Linked DNA regions of Homo sapiens: region 1 is linked to region 2. The links are contacts of gene promoters, found by promoter capture Hi-C in human tissues and cell types (Jung and others, 2019). All regions are on one chromosome and are shown on one strand. The core of a region is centred on a gene start or on the middle of the fragment in contact, and the rest is flanking DNA. Distances in the headings are between cores, read along the strand shown. Region 1 overlaps LUZP2 (leucine zipper protein 2). Region 2 holds the start of LUZP2 (leucine zipper protein 2).

The links. The method cuts DNA at HindIII sites, captures the fragments that hold promoters and counts their contacts. A contact is called where the count stands out against the background at its distance.
Region 1: a fragment that was not itself captured here is called in contact with the fragment with the promoter of LUZP2 in region 2 in 2 of the 25 tissues and cell types used here (IMR-90 fibroblasts and adrenal gland).

Annotation. Positions count from the first base shown.
Region 1 is chr11:24,667,144-24,670,507 of GRCh38, forward strand. The region is part of intron 1 of LUZP2 (leucine zipper protein 2); the gene reads left to right. Among named protein-coding and RNA genes, the nearest start is that of LUZP2, 170 kb to the left of the region's middle. The HindIII fragment of the contact is 6,331 bases long and covers 1-3,364 here.
Region 2 is chr11:24,495,362-24,498,450 of GRCh38, forward strand. LUZP2 (leucine zipper protein 2) reads left to right here and starts at 1,692. Exons shown (of 12, transcript NM_001009909.4): 1 at 1,692-1,944. The coding sequence starts at 1,883. The HindIII fragment of the contact is 10,753 bases long and covers 1-3,089 here.

The DNA of each region.
Region 1 (3,364 bases), core at 840-3,339, 170 kb after region 2:
CACAGTACTTCAACAGCCCAAATATACATTTTCTTTTTTTCTTTTTTTTTTTTTTTTTGAGACGGAGTCTCACTATGTCACACAGGCTGGAGTGCAGTGGCACGATCTCGGATCATTGCAACCTCCACCTCCCGGATTGAAGCGATTCTCCTGCCTCAGTTTCTTGAGTAGCTGGGACTACAGACATGTGCCACCATGCTTGGCTAATTTTTTTTGTATTTGTAGTAGAGACAGAGTTTCACCATGTTGGTCAGGCTGGTCTCGAACTCCTGACCTCGTGATCTGCCGTCCTCAGCCTCCCAAACTGCTGGGATTACAGGCATGAGCTGCCGCGTCCACCACATGTTCTTAAATGTATAGATTTAAATATGCAATTTAAATGCAAATATGTTAAAGGGATTAAACTATGCACTCTGTGTAATGGGGAGCTGAGTGGGGAGAAAGCAGAGTTTGTACATTCAAAGAGCTGATGTTTATTCCTGAGATTTCTGACTTGGAATTCAGATTTCTAAGAGCATTTAACTCCCAAAAACCCAAGGACATGAGCAAATATAGCAAGTGATAAATAGGCTTAGTCAAAAATATAAAATATACCATCTGGGTAAACAGAATTTTATGGACTCTTGGAATTCAGCAAGGGCTTGGAGAATGCTTCTATTTGCATTGCCTTTGCAGAATTGACCCCTCAGCAATGAAAGTCCCCCAAAACTTAAGTCTTCTGACTCCTTTCAGAGAAATAAATTATCTAATGCAAACATTGAAAGAATGAGGGTAATTCACATGATAGATATTTTCCTCTTGGAGTTTATTAATTCACTTTTATAGAAATGAGAACTATAAAGCAGTAAAACTGGCAATAACTAATATCATCCACAGGATGGTAAGTGCTGTAATAAAGACTATAGCAGACTGGAAAGAAAATCTTGTCCTCAAAAGTTCACAGTGCAAGTTTGATTGCATTATTGCATAGTGCAAAGTGAAAGTGATTGCATAGTGCATATGAAAGTTTGATTGAATTATTACAGAAAAAGTGTGGTTTTCTTGCTTCTTTAATCTGGTTTCACATGCTGGTACTTATCTGGAATCTTTGTTTGGAAATAAAACAAACTAATCTCCAACACTGAAGCATAAAGGGAATTTACGAGTTTCATCGAAGATTCCAGGGTAAATGTCTGGATTTCAGGCATGGCTAGATGCAGGAGGTCAAAGAACGTCCTTGGAATTTGATACATGTTTCTTCATGTATGATAGTTCCCCATATAGTTTTATTCTCAAAGTGGCTTTCTGTCTGTGGAGACAAATGACATGCTGAAAGGTCTAGAAACATATATTCAGAAACTAGCAACCCTTGTAAAGAGAATACCATTTTACTCCACTATCACTTGAAAAACTTTGGGACACTGAGCAAATTGGGACCATGTATCCATCACTGAATGAATCATTGTGGCCAAAAGTATGAAATCCTCCAAATGATCAGCTTTCCACATGGCAAAGAGTCATACAAGAGTGACTTCCCTAAACAAAGGAACATGCTTTTTTCCTAGAAGGGGAATAGATAAAACAAATGTCTGTTACACTGCACGTCTCTCGCTTTCTATTATTTATAAATAGTTTAATCCTGAAACTCAACTTCTCTCATAAGAAATGAAATATACAAAAAGTAGATTAGAAGAAAATGGAGGCAAGGATCAAAGTGTGGCTTTACCCAAGTAAAATCTGAGTAAGTACTAGATTTTCCTGGACATTTAAATGTTTATTACATACCATTTTCCAAACATAGGTTTGAAAATGTTGCAGAAAATGTCAAACTTGCACTAGAATTTCTATATTTTTCAGTAAACGGCTTTTTCCTTCAACCAGAAAGTTTGGGTTTAAGCACCTAGTGAAATAAAATCTTACTAACCTGCTACTAGGCAGGCAGCAAGGTGCAACACCAAAAAAGGAAATCAAAAGAACCAAGTTAAAGACCCAGCTCTGACAGTAACTACCTTTGTGACATTGGAAAAATGTTCTTTTTACTTTAACTTTCTCATCAGTAAAATTAGAAAATTAGCAAAAGCAATGTGTGTGCTCCCAGGTTTATCCAGAAGTGAAATGAGCAGTTTGTTCCTTACTACAAATGAATTATTTTTTGTCTTCCAAATTAATTATTTATTATTCTTGTGCCTAGTTGTATTCAGTGTTACTCAAGCATACTTTATCACCCAGTACTTTTCTATCTTATTCCTGGAATAAAAAATAAATTCTGTCTGGGCCTGCCGAATGCTTTCCTAATTGGTATTAATGATTTGCTTTTAAATTAGTTGTGCATTTTTATAGAACTAACCTTTGGGGATTACAATTAATGCTACAATTGTTTTAAACCATTAGAGGAAACTGCCAATGAATCTTTTCTATTTTTTTTTTCTTCTTTGTGTTCTGGGCTGTGAAAATGGTCACTCTCAGATATTTAAACATATTTAGATTTGTGGAGGAGAAGAGAGCACATTGTTTGGATTATTTAAAGCAGGCACAATTTATAGAAACTTTCAGTAGCTAAACTTCATTGGTTTTCTTGATAGGATGTTCACGTGCGGTATTTGAGGAATTGTGCTTTTGTACTGTGATGCAAAATAGGCACCTGGTCTCTTTCTAGACTTTTCGAAGGTGCATTCTTTTGGCTTAGGTCATGAATCTTAAAAAATCCTGTCCTGAAGCAAAGAGAGGAGAAATATAATTTCTATTGATTACTTTATGATCAAATTTCCTTTAACTATCTTTGGCTATGAACATGTCACTTCAAATAGCTAATGGTAGGACTCTAGGCATCTAGAGATGACAATAAATTGTATGTTTATCTGGCTACATTCTGAATTAAAAAAAACTAAAACATATTTCACTATGGCAATATATTTCCGATGAATAACTTCAGGTAAAAACAATGTAATAAGTTTACACTGAAGGAGTATAATGTAGTCTAGTTAATGCTCCTTAGATAAGCTGCTTAATATAGTCTTATTTTCTACTTAAAAATATAGTGTTCATAGAAGCAACACCAGAACTTGGAGTGAAAACAAGACTCAAGTTGCAGCTCTGGTATTGACAGCTCTGTGACCACAGATAAGTCACTTCATTTTCATTAGCATTAAGTAATTTTTTAAATGGCAATTATTTTATCTTTTCTTGTGTAAGGATGACTATGGTCATAATAACAGTCACAGCCACTACAAGTTAACCCTAGAATGTTGTCATTCCCATTTTATGGATGAAATAAAGCTTCAAATAGTTAAATATTAAAGATTAGTTATATAAGTATGTAAACTTAGGCCCGGTTGACTTCAGAATGTGAGTTTTGAACCTGTCTTATTTATCACATCAAATGGCA
Region 2 (3,089 bases), core at 442-2,941:
TTATTGCCCAAGGGGCTAATATTCACTTTTCAAAACTTATTACTCATCTAGTTCAGCAGCTCAAGATTTTGAAGCAAATCTGTTTTACATACATGTCTTAACCTTCAATCCCATTTAAAAAAAATAGTAAATTAGATGGTTAACCTTTTAGATTTGCATCCTCTTTAAAATAAAGCTTTACAGCAAATGCATTTTTCCTACAAATGTCTTCGAAAATGAGATTGAAGAGGATGTATCATCTAAATTTTTCTGTAAAGAGCTTGCCCCCGAAATAATTGGAACATGAACTGAAACCTCTAGATAGGAATTCCTGGACACAGCTGTCCATTATCTTTCGGGACTTTGGTGCACCTCACCCTTTACTGAACACAACTTTGTGTCAAACACTGGGCTAGGAGTGCTAGTTGTGATGTTTGAGGCAACAGTGGAATTTTTCTTAGGACTTAGTAGAACCAGTTCTTTTTTTTAATATGCATAGTCAGATTTTGATGATATTCAGTCTGCTCATATCTATAATAGTGATATTAACGTCTATTTCACTAGGATGGCTCTTGTGAAGATTAAATTAAATACTGTATGAAGAAGTGCCTTATACACAGTTATATAACCAGGATAATATCCAGATGGAATTCTCATTCTCTCTCTCTCTCTCTCTCTCACTCTCACTCACACACACACACACACACACACACACACACACACACATGCAATATCATCTTATAAATATCCTAGAATTGAATATCTCAGTAGCAGAGATAGTAGTTCTGTTTCTCAGAATTGCTTTTGCAAAATGGTGTTTTGGATTATAATTGTGCTATTTAATTTTTCTAATTAAAATTTCTAAATAGAGCCTATTAAATATTGGATGCTTATGATAGAACATTTGAAAATATAGAAAACCAAATGACCTACAAAACCTCTACCTTCCAGTACCATCATTCCGAGCTGATTACTGTTAACATTTTAATGGTTTTTGTCCGCTAGGTCTCCTTGATGAGTTTCACCTGAGGAAAAGGACTCCTTCAGGTGTGTGAACTTGAGCCACCAGGTCCAACCCCATTGGCAGGTGCTGGTACAGACGACTGAAATCAGAGGAAGATCAGAAATCTTCAAAACCCAGAGCAGCAGATGTCTTAACGGTCCCGAAACGTTCTTTGGTTCTTTGCAGTCAACATTCACGGGTTAAGAAGATTGCAATGCCATGACGGGCTGAGGTTGCATTTCTGGACGCTGCTTACTCCCGCTTCCTTCCATCTGTTTCAGGCAAATCATTATGCAGTTCTAATTAGAACAATCTTCTAAACACTCTCTCCAGAGCGACGTTCTTCCAAACACGGTTTAAGCGGCGAGAGACACCTGCCTAGGACCCTACGCGTCTGGAAGTCTCTCCCAGTGAATTGGGTCTCATCTCCTGCCGAGTACGCAAGTTCAATTATCGGCAGATTAGGTTTCTACTCTCCGTGCCCCGCCCCGCGCCATCCTGGGGAGCAGCGGGAATAAATGATCCGCCCCTGGCCAGTGCTCACCCGACTGACCAGAGCGCAGCCCGGTGACCGAAGCGCACGGGGCGATCGCGAGGCGCCCCCTCCCTCTCCCCGCGCCGCCTCCAGCGCGAGTGACGGCGCGCCCTCCGGGCTCCGGAGCGGCGGCGCCGAACAATCCCCGGCAGGGCTCGCCTCGCCGGTGACATCACTCCTGAAGATACTCCTCGCTCCCAGCGCCTGCCTTCCCCAGGCGTCCGTTCGTGTGCCCGTCTCCGCCTTTCCGCCTCGGAAGAGCGCTCATCACTGGCTGGGGACAGAGCCGGGCACCAAGGAGCGACAGGATCCCGAAGAGAGAGAGAGAAGGCAGCGAGGGAAGGAGGACCCCGGCAGGCAGCAGCATGAAATTCAGCCCAGCGCACTACCTGCTGCCTCTCCTGCCTGCGCTGGTCCTCAGCACCAGGTGAGTCCAGGAGCGTGAGTGACCTGAGGCCAGGGGCGCTGCCGGGGCGAGGTTGGTCCTACTGTGGGTCACCAGTGGGGGCCAAGGCACTTCAGCTGTTTGCATCTCCCGCCTAAGCAAGAGGGACGCTGTATGGTTTGGGCTCTGAAATCCTTCTGAGAGAGCAGAGCCCTTTCCTAGTTATCCCAGCCCCCTGGAGAAAGTCTTAGGATTGCTCTCAGTGAGGGATCAAAAGCTTTCTCTTCCGAAGGAGAGAAAAGACATTTTACCCTCCGGTCCTATTAGTAGCCAAAAGGTAACACGCGGTAAAAGAACAAAATAAAGAACGGAAATAGGCAAGGAGGGAATTGCCACCAGGCAGTGTCTTTACATTGGAGTTGTCTTAATAACCATAGAGCTTCTCCCTTCCCCCAAGTGTGCCTGATTTAAGGAAGAGGAAACCAGAGAAAACAGATTAATCCTGGAAGATGCTAAGACTTGTACAAAAGTTCCTGGACTCCTGAAATGGCATGTTTCAACGTCTTGGATAAGCTTAGTGATAGGCGTTTTCTTTTGACTGTCTTGTGAACAGGTCTAATTAAAGAGCACAGAAGGCGATTAAAAGTTAGAAGACACTCTCAGAGTGCTGATGCAGAGACCCTAGTCAGAAACAATTAAGTACTGTACTCCATCACTGGCCATGGATGGGACTTTAAGCCCCATTACAGAGGAGCTATTTTTGGTGGAGATTTAAAATGCAGAGATTGAGAAGAGTTTTGTGACTCCCCACTGTTGATCAAGTCCCAAAGTTGTGATGGGTTTGCTTTTTTCTTCCACAAGCGCAGCACAAAGGTGGACTGTTTAGTTGCCCAGGACTGTCTTTATTCTGCATGCCCTTAGCATCATATTGGCAGCAACCTCTTTCCCTTGGCTACTATAAAATAAAATAACCCACACAGGATGAAGATCCTTTCAAGTCTACGTGAATAGAAACATTATTTGATTGTGCATCTGATGGCAAATAAAGTAGGGATATAGGGTTGTTTCTAATTCTGAAATGGAAAAGGATGAAGAAAACTTACTCTGTCTTACAAATCAAGGCTGTAAAATTCTTGATTCCGTTCCTAATCTACACACCTTCTTTCAGGCCTGTGTAACCAAACTTT